Linked DNA regions of Homo sapiens: region 1 is linked to region 2. The links are contacts of gene promoters, found by promoter capture Hi-C in blood cells and fetal thymus (Javierre and others, 2016). All regions are on one chromosome and are shown on one strand. The core of a region is centred on a gene start or on the middle of the fragment in contact, and the rest is flanking DNA. Distances in the headings are between cores, read along the strand shown. Region 1 holds the start of PRSS37 (serine protease 37). Region 2 holds the start of MGAM2 (maltase-glucoamylase 2 (putative)).

Region 1 (7,338 bases), core at 452-2,951, 270 kb after region 2:
GAGGAAAAAAAAAATCTCAAATTGACCTTGAATTAGTGAGTTTTATCTCAATACCAGTAACTTATTAACAGTAGATTCAAAGCAGGCAGAAAAGGAAAGAGAAATAGAGAGCTTTAGAAGACTCTACTTAACTCTATAGTTGTAGATTAAACATTTGAGCTCTGAATTTTTCTTGTTGTAATTTGCCCGTCAGTTTTAAAATGTACACAAGAAAGGGCCATAATATGTAACCAGCTGGAGGATTAGAAAACCATGCCTTTTAGCTTCTGCTGGAGTTTCTACCCTTTCTCCCTTTCCTGCTCTAATGATTTGTGATTAGCCAGCCTTATTGCAATAACACCACATTTACTATCATTATCATACTTTAATATCTTGGCTTCTTGGCAATAGGTATTCAGTCCTTGCCCATGTTTTCCAAGCATCCCTGTACTCATGCAGTGGCCCACAAAAGTTGTGCAGTTGGGCAACTCCACTCCACATGGACATTGCCGACTGCCCAGGGATTCCCCACCATAGACACTCATTCCTGGCTCGAAGTTTGGTCTCTCTGACCCCATTTGTGATGCCAATTGTAACAAGAAAAATCCAGAATCATATTTTTAAAAAAACCTTTCCCCCAAACTAGGAGGGAGCCAAGAGACCAAAGAATGACTCAGACAAGTCCAGCTTGGCCAGTGGATAAGTTTATTAGGACTTACATATGAGACACTCCTAGATAGCAGAGGACACCTTTAGAGACCTGCCCTGCTTTCCATCTCTAAGCTGCTTTTAAGCTAATTTTCTGGCTCTTTGCCTACTGTGTGTGCATGATGGGACTGTTTTCCTTGATAGGTTCTCAGGTATTCTCTGGGATGTTTGGGTACTCAAGGACACCTGCTCCTCAGCTGGACACCATGGCGTTGACTCACCACTTGGCCATCAAGGATACCTGCTTCTTGGCTGGGCACCGTGTCCTTGACTCACTACTTAGCCATTAAGGTTCAAGCAGTGGTCATACACCCTTAAGTATCCTGGTGGGGGACCTGCAACCCTACACCAGTGACAAGGCCTATTTCTCATTGTCCACGACATGTGACTTTGGGAAAACTACTTAGATTCTCTCTGCTTCAGTTCTGCCACCCACAGACCAGAAATAGATACCAGACCCAGCCCTATCTCTTCTTTCTAGGGTTGTTGTGACATTTGGAAAGAGATTATGGGTTTAAGAAACTTTAAAGGGTTAGAGTGATACAAAGTGTAGTGAATTTTACATCTCAGACTAACCTGATATAAAATCTCTACTGACAAGTCCGTAAAGATCTTAGCTCAGTGCCTAGGATTCAGTAAATGCTTAGAGGATATCAGCTATTAGTGTTACCGCTCATTTTCTTGTTAGACTATGCTCCCAATTATCCAAGGATGACTTTGGTAGTCTAATATTGGTCTAAGTCTTTAAGTATTAGAGGTACTGCCTTCTGAATTGTCACCAGGCCTAATGTCATCTAGACTGTAAACAATTCCCCAACTATCAAGATAACTGTTCTATGAATGCTTTTCATTTCCATATTTTCTTGGCTCAATGCTGTTGCTCAGGACAAAAAACACCAAGTTGGTGATGATGACTGAGTGATGAAACAGTGATCAGAGGGACATATGAAGCTAGTGTAACAAAGATGGGAGGGGCTGGGGAAAGTATAAGTAACTATTAGGAGGTTCAGAGCAAACCTCAGGACACTTACTCCCTGAGCTAAGGTAAAGAATATTGTCCCTCATAGCCCTGGTCTCAGAAACTCTGTGGGGAAGATAAGTCCTGAGCCTAGAGCTGCCATTTCCACAGACAACTGAACTACCTTCAAACAGATGTGTTTTTAGGGGCAGCAGATAGAAGGAGCTGAATCCAGGAGTTTCCTTCCCTGAAATGCCCCAACAGAGGCACAGTCCTCCACCTTCCCTGGAACAGAGGGCTTTCATCTGTCTCTCTGAAGCCATCTCCCTCCCCTGTTTATGCCCAGAGCTGCTTTCCAATCCCATGGAGTGCCTCCGTATCTAACCATAGCCACTGAGTCTACCAGGTGTTCCTGAGAAGACAACTAAGCCAACCGCTCCACACTCTGCTGATTTTCTTCTACATCTCACAGGGGGAAGAGCTGGATCACCATGAAATATGTCTTCTATTTGGGTGTCCTCGCTGGTATGTACTCAAGACCTTGTACTCTGTCCTGTAAGGCACAGTTTAATGGATGGGGTGAGACAGAGGCAGGATTGCGAAGGGTGCAGAAAAAGAGTCAAAAATAGTGTCATCAGCAGAATTAGGAGTCCTGCCTCTCAGACTCCATCCAAAGGCTCTCCGGATAGGCTGAGCCCACTTTTCTAGTGTTAAGCTATAGGGTGGGTTAAGGCACACATGTGCCTTGGAGAAGGCTTAACAGTGAGTGTCCTCCCACCGACACTAATGCAGAAAACAGAGAAGTAGAAACAAAAGATCAAGTACTAGGACCCTACCTTCTGTAGTCCTTGCCCCACATGGGGTTCTTCTGACAGCAGAATTTGCAGATGAGGCATTTCCCACCATTCTCTGACTGCCTAGGTTGTATCACACATTAGCTGTGTGAGATTAGCCAAGTTAATTAACTCTTCTGTGCTTCAATTTCTTCAAAATGGGGGTATGACTACCCATATTATAGAGCTATTGTGAAGATTAAATAAATCTATGTAAAGCACTTAGAACAATGCCTGCTATAGAGAGCTCAATGTCTCTTGCCCTTGTTTACAGTCTACCCTTTTCTCTTTGGGGTTTCTAACTGTGTGATCACACAGAAGGGTGTGGTGAGGTACAGACCCAGTCTTGGGGAAGGTTAACAGGAGTAGCAAGAGAAGCCAAGACAAGAAGAGGGCTTTATTTCTGATACTAGAATCAGCCTTCCTCCCCTTTATTCTCTAGGGTATGTTTTAAATAATTCATTTATAAAAACAATATATGTTCATATTACAAAATTTAGACATTTTTAAAGTAGAAAAATAAGCATCATTCATAATCCCACCTCTTAGTCAACACATGCTAACACTTTGAGTTTACTCTCAGAATCTATATATTTTTTGCATTTAAATGTTTTTATTTATTTGTTTTTAGACAAATAGATTATATCCACAATTTTCTTGTTCTTTTTAACTTAAATAAGCATTAATATTCTTTTGCTGTTTAATATTCTAATTAGTTTAATTTTTATTATATATGATGTTCCACTTTTTGATGTGCTTCAATGTCCAACATTACTATGTCAGATATTTATGTTTCCAGTGTTCAGCTGTTATAGCTAACATGAGCATACTTGTTTGTAATCCTTGTCTATATCTGATTTTTTTCTTTAGAATGGATTCTTGGGGTTGGAATGATTAGGTCACAGGTTATAAACAATTTATGATTCTTGATGCCTGTTTCTAAATTGCTTTTCAAGAAGATGGAATCAATTTACTAGCAGTGATGAGTGTCTCTCATTATACTCTCTTAGATTGAATATTATCAATATTAAACAAAATTATTATAAATATAAGATAAAATGGCATATCGTTTTAATTTACATTTTTATTAGAAAAACATGTCAAATACGTTAACACTTCTTGGCCAACTGATAACTGTTTAAGAATCATCCAGATTCCTTTTCAAGTAAGAGACTGTTACCTTATTTTTATAATATTTATGTATTAAGAATGTTCATTATTTTCTCAGGGACATTTTTCTTTGCTGACTCATCTGTTCAGAAAGAAGACCCTGCTCCCTATTTGGTGTACCTCAAGTCTCACTTCAACCCCTGTGTGGGCGTCCTCATCAAACCCAGCTGGGTGCTGGCCCCAGCTCACTGCTATTTACCGTTGAGTATTTGGGCATCCCCATCCCCAAAACAGCTACTGTTCATTCTAGATCAGTGGTTCTCATATAAGGGTAACTTCTCTACAGGGTACACTTGGCAATGTCTGAAGATATTTTTGGTTGTCACAACCAGGGGGCAGTGCTATTGGCATCTAATGGGGAGAGGCTAGAGCAAAGATGCTGTTTAACATCCTACAATTCACAGCACAGTCCCCACAATAAAGATTTGTCCAGCCCAGAACAGCAATAGTGCCACTGTTGAGGAACCCTGTGTTACATGTTATGCCTCCTCAGACTCTCATAAGTTTTTTTCTTTTTTTTTTTTTACTGGCAGTATGAATGCATTTTATCACTTAAAGATCTAGCAGGTAACTGATGATGCACTCAAATTGGGTCAATTGAGGTGAGTTTTAAGAAGGAACCAATTGCAAAGGTATGGAGACATTAAAGGGACAATATTAAGAATAGTTCCATACCACCAGGGTTTGTATTAAGAAAATGCAGTTACCACCTCTAGGCCTAAAAAGGCAAGAGGAGAAGATAATTTCAAAGGAGGCAAGGAGAGATAGAGAAAAAGCGAGACCTGTGTGAGGAGACAGCCTGATAAGGATTGTAACCCCTAGTCAAGGAGCACAGCCACTCTGTGACAAAACTGCAGGGAGGGACCTGGGAGGATAAGTACTCCAATCTCACTCTTCTTCCTCCAGTTACTTTCTGGTGCTTCCTATTGGCCAATAGAAGGAAGCCAGAGGACAAGAGAGCCCACTGATTAAATCCATATATGTCCCCTTCCAAAGGTGCAGAGCAGAATGGAATAGGACTGTTAGTGCATCAGCTAGGGAACCAAACAGGAGACACCCAGAACTAGGTTATTTATTCTCTGGTCTCCACCAAAATGGACATTGTTCAGTTAGATAGGCGAGAAAATTACATTTCCTTGACATGCATCCTCTTCCTCTCCACTACATTAAAGAACACAACATTAAAATGTAGTGAAGGGCTCCACTACTTACTATATCACCCTGAGTGAATTACTCCTATGTGCCCCCATTAATTCATGTGCTAAATGGGGATAAAAATGGAATCCACTGCATAGACTTGTTGTGAGTTAAATGACATAATCCAGAAAAAGCACTTGGTACAGTTCCTGGCACTTTGTAACATTCAGTATCTTAGCAATGATGATGATGATGATGATGATTACTTCCAACCCCTCTCCCTCCAGAAATCTGAAAGTGATGCTGGGAAATTTCAAGAGCAGAGTCAGAGACGGTACTGAACAGACAATTAACCCCATTCAGATCGTCCGCTACTGGAACTACAGTCATAGCGCCCCACAGGATGACCTCATGCTCATCAAGCTGGCTAAGCCTGCCATGCTCAATCCCAAAGTCCAGCCCCTTACCCTCGCCACCACCAATGTCAGGCCAGGCACTGTCTGTCTACTCTCAGGTTTGGACTGGAGCCAAGAAAACAGTGGTAAGTGTGCCTTCCACAGCAAATCAGGGTCATCAGTTGTCCTTTAGGAGGAACATCCATATCCTCATAGCTGTGAGGAGAGAGGAGGAAAGGAGAGTGAAAGGAGACCCAATAGAGATGCTACCTGAGTGGTCTGGCAAACAGAGACCTGCCCAGAGGAACAAAGCTCCTCCTTTCCCAGGGTGTCTAATATCCCACTGCCTCTGCAGGGCTTTGGCAGCTGGAGCCACCAGGCCATCTGACTCTGCACAGAGGCCCAGCCATTCCTGATTGGCAGAGACACAATTCACATGAACAAGGTGTGGTCCTACTTCTCATACATGCTCATTTCACATGTAAAGGACACCTCTGAGAATTGCCTCAGGTCATTTAGTTCTCCAAGACAGGCCACCAATTAAAAATATACTCTACCTTAAAGAGACGTAAAGCCTTTTTCAAAATCCTCAAGATTAGCTCATAACCACACTCTTGATGATTTCTCTCCTTTGTCGCATTCCTTATTTTCTTTAAACACACACAAAAAGATACCAGTTGAAATAGAGGCTGGTGGTCAGAAGGACTAAAATAACCACTGTCAACAGGATGTTTTATTTTATCCCCGTCTCCCTCAGGCCGACACCCTGACTTGCGGCAGAACCTGGAGGCCCCCGTGATGTCTGATCGAGAATGCCAAAAAACAGAACAAGGAAAAAGCCACAGGAATTCCTTATGTGTGAAATTTGTGAAAGTATTCAGCCGAATTTTTGGGGTAATCTTATCTCTATATTCAGCTTTCATTTACTTGCATATGCCCGGTTAACTATTGACTCTTGATGTAAAAACTATTTTAGATGTCTAAATAATTTTTTGAGAATTTGATAAGGCTGCTGCAAAGCCAGCATTGTTTCTTCAGTAATGGGATCCCCTTAAATTGTCTTTATTCATTAAAGGACATTATAAAGTACTTCCAGTTAAGCACACCATTTCCTAGGTATTCATTCTTATAACTACAAGCAAAATTGTGAAAATAGGCATTTCTTTAAAAATAAATCAGACTTTTCACAAATAGAAAATGCCTTCACCAGTTCAAAAAAATGGAGTCTGACCCATTTTACATGTGATTTCTAGAGAGACTGTCCTCTGACTTTTTCAAGGTCACACAAAGCTAATTACAGCAAAATGAGAAAAAAGGCTCAAGCATCCTGTCCCCTGATTCGGTGCTCTTTTCAAGAGTCCAGCATATGCCTGCAGACAGGGCTCACCCAAGCGGGACACTAGGGTTCCTGTGAGAAGATCTGACACTCTTACTCTCTCTCTCTCTCTCTCTCTGCATGATCTCCGGTAGGAGGTGGCCGTTGCTACTGTCATCTGCAAAGACAAGCTCCAGGGAATCGAGGTGGGGCACTTCATGGGAGGGGACGTCGGCATCTACACCAATGTTTACAAATATGTATCCTGGATTGAGAACACTGCTAAGGACAAGTGAGACCCTACTTCTCCCTCTGCATTCCACTGGCTCTGCCATGGACTATACAAGCAGATAATTTTCCCTCTATTCAAAATAAAATCTCCAAATGAAAATTTGGGAATGTAGCATACTAGTAGCCAATGTTTTCTTGTTTGTGTCTCTGTATCCTACAACGGTGTGAAGAACTAAGATCAAATTCATGAAATGAACATTTACTACACTGTCCGGGATTACATTCGTTATCTCATTTAATGCTCATAACAAACCTTTGAGGTTATCTTTTGTTCCAACTTTACACATGAGAAAATGCAGGCTAAAAGAGGTTATTTAACATTGCCCATAGCTGGTGGATATCAGAGCCTGAAATGGAACCCAAAATTGTCAGATTCTAAATTCCTTGTTATTAGCCTCAGTGTTATATGGGAGTCTACAGCATCATAAAAGATGTTGGCTCCTATTTATTTGCCTCCCTCTCTTTCCACTCAAAGGGCTTGAAGCTCTCACTTGTGGCTAAGATCTTGGGTACTGGGATAAGCTCTCTGAGGAAAAGTCATACCTCATCTCA
Region 2 (6,767 bases), core at 4,177-6,676:
AAGAACACTTATCTTTTGGAGTTGAACTTAAACTAATCATGGAAGTGAATTTTGAATACTGCAATGTAGTGGCATATTGAAAAGTAAAAGAATAAAATAATCTCTTTGGCGTTTACAGGAGACTTCCTTTACCCAGCCTTCCAACCTACAAGCATCTCCCTTACCTGAAGTTTCCTCCAACACAAGAAGCAGCAAGAGGATATCTATGGTCACCACAATTAAGCAGAAGATGATCAGAAGGACTTCCAATACACTGAGCTTCCTCGCCATCTAGATAGACACAGATAATTGGGTTAAAACAAATCACAAGGCCCCACCAATCTAAGAGGATACATAATCATTGTATCCAAATGTGGAATTGTTTGCAAGATGACCTTGATTATCAGCATCCTCTTTACATAATCTAAAGAATATTTGTTTCCACTTATCAGTGTCCCTAATTAACTCTAGCTTTACATCCAACACCTGTAGAGCTCTTGCCTTTTTTGCATGTAGAGGAACTGAGGATTGTCCAAGGAAAAGTATATCAGACATGAAGAACTGAAGGGAAAATGTTGTGGAATAACACACAGAAGAGAGATGAGGGGCTGAGGTAGCTCACAAAACCCTTTAGATTTCACTTTGATCTTCACATCCACCTAATGTAGTAGACAGGAAGGTATGCTCAGGGAGAGAGAAAGTAGCAAAACTGGAATCCAAGTCTTCTTCTTTCAACTGCCCTGGACATGATGCTGAAGTCACTGTTGAGACTGTTTAAACGTCACTGACACTCTCAAGGATCTGGTAACAAAAATGATCCTGATACCCAGCATAAGTCTTGCTGGGAGGTTCACAGCAAACAACTCACATAAATTTCGTGGCTCCCAGTAACCCCGAAGATCATTTATTGACCCAAGATTTAAAATATTTTCTATATTGGAGGATGTACTGAACTGGGAATCAAAGGGGTTGAATTCTTGTCCTGATTTTCTTACTAACAGATGGGCTATTTACCTATTTGGACCTGTATTTCTTCATCTACAAAAATGACATCAGACACTGGATGTGTTCTCATTTTTCTGCTCTAATTATAGTAAATCTAACATTATTACATGTCTACAGATCCATGACAGCCCTCAGCTGCAATGCCTTCTTCGCCATTCCATCTCCATCATCCTCAAATGTTTGCTAGCCCCTGGAATTTATCATCCCCAGAACTGTTACACTTTTGAAATTGTAAATCCATATGCAAATGAGCAATGTCCTTTTACTGTCTCATTGTCTGACTTTATTTTATTTATTTATTTATTTATATATTTTGAGATGGAGTTTCACTCTTGTTGCCCAGCTGGAGTGCAATGGCACGATCTCGCCTCACCGAAACATCTGCCTCCTGGGTTCACCCAATTCTCCTGCCTCAGCCTCCCGAGTAGCTGGGATTACAGGCATGCGTCACCATGCCCTGCTAATTTTGTATCTTTAGTAGAGACAAGGTTTCTTCATGTTGGTCAGGCTGGTCTCGAACTCCTGATCTCAGCTGATCTGCCCACCTTGGCCTCCCAAAGTGCTGGGATTACAGGCATGAGCCACAGCACCCAGCCTGCCTTACTTTATTTTAAAAAAGTATCTTATCACATCAAGGCAGCTGTTATCTTTCCATTTCCTTTTAATCTCTTAGCCCTTCCTAGCTGTTAACCCTAACTGACCTAGGCCTCAGTATTGATTATTTAACTTGCCATTGCTCTCATCTTCCTCGCTCTCTATCTGCTAACAGAATCTGCAGGATGAAACTATCCATCCAAACATCTGCCTTCTGTGCTGCCGCACGTAACTCAAGGGAGATGCCACCGAGGCTCATAATCTCCTAAATAAACTGGGCCTGCAAGCCGACTGATGGTCTTGACAGTGCCTCTCACTTTTCGCAGCAGTAATTTTATTTTTATTTTATTTTATTTTTTTGCAGACGGAGTGTCACCCTGGAGTGCAGTGGCGCAATCTCAACTCACTGCAACCTCCACCTCCCAGGTTCAAGGGATTATCCTGCCTCAGCTTCCTGAGTAGCTGGGACTACAAGTGCATGCCACTACGTGTGGCTAACTTTTTGTATTTTTAGTAGAGATAGGATTTCACCACGTTGGCCAGGCTAGTCTCGAACTCCTGACCTTAAATGATCCACTTACCTCGGCCTCCCAAAGTGCTGGGATTACAGCATGAGCCACCGTGCCTGTAATTTAAAAAATTGTTCCTTCTATCCTTCTTTTCAGGCCTGACTCTATTACCTACACTCTTATTCTCATGCAGTATCATCTCTGATATCACCCAAAAAATAATGATTTTGCAGAAACTATTCTCTCTCTCTGCTTCTCAACCCAAGCGTTTCCACAAAGGTTATTCACATCTAGGTAAATTCTTATTTTTCCCCCTCTATTCTCAATGAAACAGTTTTTCCTCTTCTTGTTTAAGCATAATCCTTGTATCTGTTATCTAGATCTCACAGCTGTTGAATTTCTCAAAAATTTCATTCCACCAATTATCTCTTATTGTCTTGCATTATCAAATTCACTCTCTGAATATCTTTCCTTCATAAATATACCCCAAGTCACCCCAAACTCTGTTAATGACTCTGTGTGCTTCTGCAGGTAGCATAATAACATTCTTTTTCTTTCCAGTGCCAATCTTCCAAAACGATAGTTCCACACTTTCTGTATTCCCTTCCTCATGTGTTATTGGCTTGGCTGTGTTTTCTGCATTCCACTGGAAATGCTCCCACCGAGGTTACTAGTGACATAGTGGCTGAATACAATGGGCGCTGTCTTAATCACTTAACCACTTTCTCCTCCATGAAACTTTCCACATATGGATTCCTTGATAGGAATCTTGGCTTTCCACCTCTATTTCTGGCTTATCTTCAATATTCTTTGTAGTCTCCTATTTCTTTCTTTCTTTCTCTCTTTCTTTCTTTCTTTCTTTCTTTCTTTCTTTCTTTCTTTCTTTCTTTCTTTCTTTCTTTCCTTCTTTCTTTCTTTCTTTTTTTGAGATGGAGTCTCGCTCTGTTGCCCTGGCTGGAGTGCAGTGGCGCGATCTCGGCTCACCGCAACCTCCGCCACCCAGGTTCAAGTGATTCTCCCGCCTCAGCCCCGCGAGTAGCTAGGACTACAGGCACCCGCCATCATGCCCAGCTAATTTTTATATTTTTGTAGAGACAGGGTTTCACCATGTTGGCCAGGTTGGTCTTGAACTCCTAACCTCAGGTGATCCGCCCGCCTTGGCCTCCCAAAATGCTAGGATTACCTGCGTGAGGCACCACGCTCAGCCCTATTTCATTAAATGTTGATGCCCCCCAAATTCTGGTATAGGCTTCTTTTTTAAACTACGCAGACACGTTGGGTAATCTCCACCACTCATGTGACTTTATATGACATGTGATGGCAATCCAACCTGTATTTCTAGCCCAGGGATTTAGATTCATATATTCAACTGCCTATTGGATGTCCCACAGATTCAATAAGATTTAACATGTTTAAACATGAAATCATCTCTCCCCACACCTCACTCCCAGTTCCTGCCAATTTGGCCAAATTATCTGTTCTTCAAATAATTAATAACTTGAGGAATAGAATCACATTATAAAAAAAAAACCTAGGAATCTTTTTTTAATTCCTCTCATTCTGTTAGTTCTCACAGCCAGTTAACAGTTCAGTCAGACTACTTTCCCGGTATCTTTGGGTCATTACCCAAGTGACCAGCACAAACAGGGTCATTTGGATCTCCTATATTCAAGCCTTTAATGGATCTCTGAATAAACCAAAAACCCTTTAGCTTTGTGATCAAAGGTCTTCATGGCACGTCCTAACCCCAGCTGCTCAGCGTCTCCTCTCCCCATATTCCCACCATACTAAACCAGCACTTATGCAGCAACAAGCTATTAAATATAAGTCAGCAGGGACAAAGACTGTTCTCTCTCTTATTTTTATGTTGATTTTGCATCTCCTCTTACTTTTCATTTCCCTGCCTCCCTGCTCTTCTCAACTCCTCCCCAATGCCACGACCATTTCTACAAATATTTTTATATAGGTATATAGCTTCAATTTTTAATTACAGTAGCCTTTAGGTTAATGTGTAATAATTCCATAAAAGAAGCACTTTAATATTGAAATAGAGGTAAGGAACTAGGACCTACAGGTAATTTGCCAACAGGCATTTAGGAAGAACCCTTAGCCCTTGGAGACACGAGGTTTGGGATTAAAATTGAGGTTTATTAACTATTCTTTACTATTTACCTAAATTAATCAGTTGTCTCTCTTTTAGTCTAAATTATTTAAAAGATATACTCTAATCCCTATAAAATATATATCATATGACTGTATTCTCATAAAATCCCTGCATTGAAGCTGATCAGACAGATATCATGATTTCCATTTTATAGATGAATATTAAGAAATTTTGTCTAGTCACGGTTAGTGGTGGAACTGAGACAAACACCGAGAGCCGCTACTTTTTAAAATAGTACTTGAATACTCTCTCGACAATGTATCCTAGGCTGCAGAGCTTAAAGACTTAGAGGATCGGTCTCCAATGGTGGAATTTCAGGTAGAGAAAGAAGTAGGAAGGACCTACCCTAAGAGTGCTATGGTATCAAACTTCGTTTCTTATACATACAGCCCACAACTCAATACCACAGCAAAGGCATTATTCATCAATTGGTCTCTTTCTGCAAGTATTATTTCTCTCCACAGGGAGACTTTTTTCTTTCTAGCTTCTAAAAATCAGCAGCAGGGACCTACTCCACAGCTCCTCAATCCTCCTGAGGGAGCAGGTTCAGCACCTTAGCTCAGGAAGTACAGGAACGCTCTGGGAATAACCCTGGGTATTTTCCTGCCTTAGGAGCTATTGTCATTCAGGCAGAGGACAGGATGGGGATTCCTAAAGGTAGAAATTCTTGCCTACTTAGAAACCCTTCCTGCCCAAAGCTGGGAGGAATTCACCTTCCTCCAAATCCATGCCATCTTGAGATAGTTTCCAGAAGGATCCCATCTGTTTCCTCTGTCCTTAATTTCTCCCAGTGAGAGAGGAGGATCTCACACCAGACCTCCCCCAACCTGTCCTCCAAACACTGACACCACACACACACACACACACACACACACACACACACACACACACACAGTCTCTCCTCTCCATCAACTATCTCATCCTCACTCCTCATATTTTATGGAAAAGGAAGAAAATATTAAGTCCAGAAGGAAAACATGGGCATCCAGATCACTTAACAGAGCAGCAGACAGAAAATCACACAAAAAGAAAGGGACCTTCCTGCCCTTGTTCAAAGCCCTGCTTGCATGGAGAAGCGTACTCACCGCATCACCTTGTTTTTTTCTATGCTGTATCTCTCCCTCAGCAATTCATAGGGAGCACTGAGCAAAGGTAACTGGGCTGAGGTAGCCAGCTTCTGCCACAATTAATTTATTGCCTTATAAAGTTGACAGCAACTGGAGGAGGGGAGTGCATATTCCAATAGGTCATAAAAGAACGCTTGTTCTCCATGTGACACAGAATGAAAGCTCCTTTTGTTAATAAAAGGGGAAGGTGGTTTTTTTTCTACTCATTGTCCCTCTTCTGTATCCCTGTTCATATCTGATTACTTGTCACGTTATGTTTCCTCATCTATACATGTAGCCTAAAGGGCTCAAGAGCTAGGGTCTTGTCTATCTTCTTCACTGTTGTATCTCCTGTGCTTAGCACTCTGCCCAATATCCATAGTTCTTTTTAAATATATAGCTATTTATTTAATAAGTAAGTGAAAGAAGGATTAGCTCTTAGTTCATCACTTTGTTCTTTTCTCCATTTTCATCCTCCAGAGTTCTCTTGGTATAACTCAGCTTTTCATTAATTCAAATGATCCTTTCCACCAATTATTCTAAATAGTGAAGTACCATTAAAGTAGCAATTATACAAACCCGTCCAGGTGCAGTGGCTCACACCTGTAATCCCAGCACGTTGGGAGGCCGAGGTGGGCGGATCACCTGAGGTCAGGAGTTTGAGACCAGCCTGGCCAACGTGGTGAAACCCCATCTGCACAGCCAGGCATGGTGGCAGGCGGCTGTAATCCCAGCTACCCAGGAGGCTGAGGCAGGAGAATCGCTTGAACTCAGGAGGTGGAGCTGGCAGTGAGTTGAGATTGCCCTATTGCACTCCAGCCTGGACAACGAGAGCAAAACTCCATCTCAAAAAAAATAAAAGAGAAAGAATGTATACAAACCTAAAGTGGGAAGATGCCTCTAGTGGACATTTGTCATGTTCTTCGATGGCTCAGCATCTTTCAAAACCTCTTGCTAAGATGGGGGAGGTGGGGAGGGAGACAAAGGTAGTAACACTACCTATTGGGTACTATACTCACTACCTAGGTGACAGGTTCAATCACACCCCAAACCTCAGCATCACACAATATACCCTTGAAATGAACCTGTATATGCACCCTGAATCTTAGACCCTGAATCTAAAATAAAAGTTGAAAAAAATTTAAAAACGGAGGATCTTTCTTTAAAAAGAAAAAGAAAACCTCTTACTTAAATCAACTTAAGGACTTTTTCTCCAAATTCTGCCTCCCCAAAGAAACAGCTAGAAATTCTCTTTCACAGCCTTTCTTTCATCCAAGGTAGAGGCAAGTGGCTGGAGCTTTGTGAATGAGATATTCCTGTGAGTGACTTACATCCAGAAGAAGGTGTAGATAAGGAGGTACCATGTAAAATCCAGGATGTTGGAAGCATAGCTCGTTTCAGAGGCAGCAG

Evidence for each region. The method cuts DNA at HindIII sites, captures the fragments that hold promoters and counts their contacts. A CHiCAGO score of 5 or more calls a contact.
Region 1: a contact is called between the fragment with the promoter of PRSS37 here and the fragment with the promoter of MGAM2 in region 2, in 2 of 17 cell types (monocytes and M0 macrophages). The highest score is 13.6, in monocytes.

The regions. Positions count from the first base shown.
Region 1 is chr7:141,835,848-141,843,185 of GRCh38, reverse strand. It overlaps PRSS37 (serine protease 37), which reads left to right and starts at 1,701. Exons shown (of 5, transcript NM_001008270.3): 1 at 1,701-2,170; 2 at 3,707-3,848; 3 at 5,073-5,326; 4 at 5,938-6,074; 5 at 6,651-6,886. The coding sequence starts at 2,137. The coding sequence ends at 6,791. RefSeq lists a silencer at 5,231-5,435. The HindIII fragment of the contact is 13,045 bases long and covers 1-7,338 here.
Region 2 is chr7:142,110,377-142,117,143 of GRCh38, reverse strand. MGAM2 (maltase-glucoamylase 2 (putative)) reads right to left here and starts at 5,426. Exons shown (of 48, transcript NM_001293626.2): 1 at 5,337-5,426; 2 at 165-270. The coding sequence starts at 270. The HindIII fragment of the contact is 17,675 bases long and covers 1-6,767 here.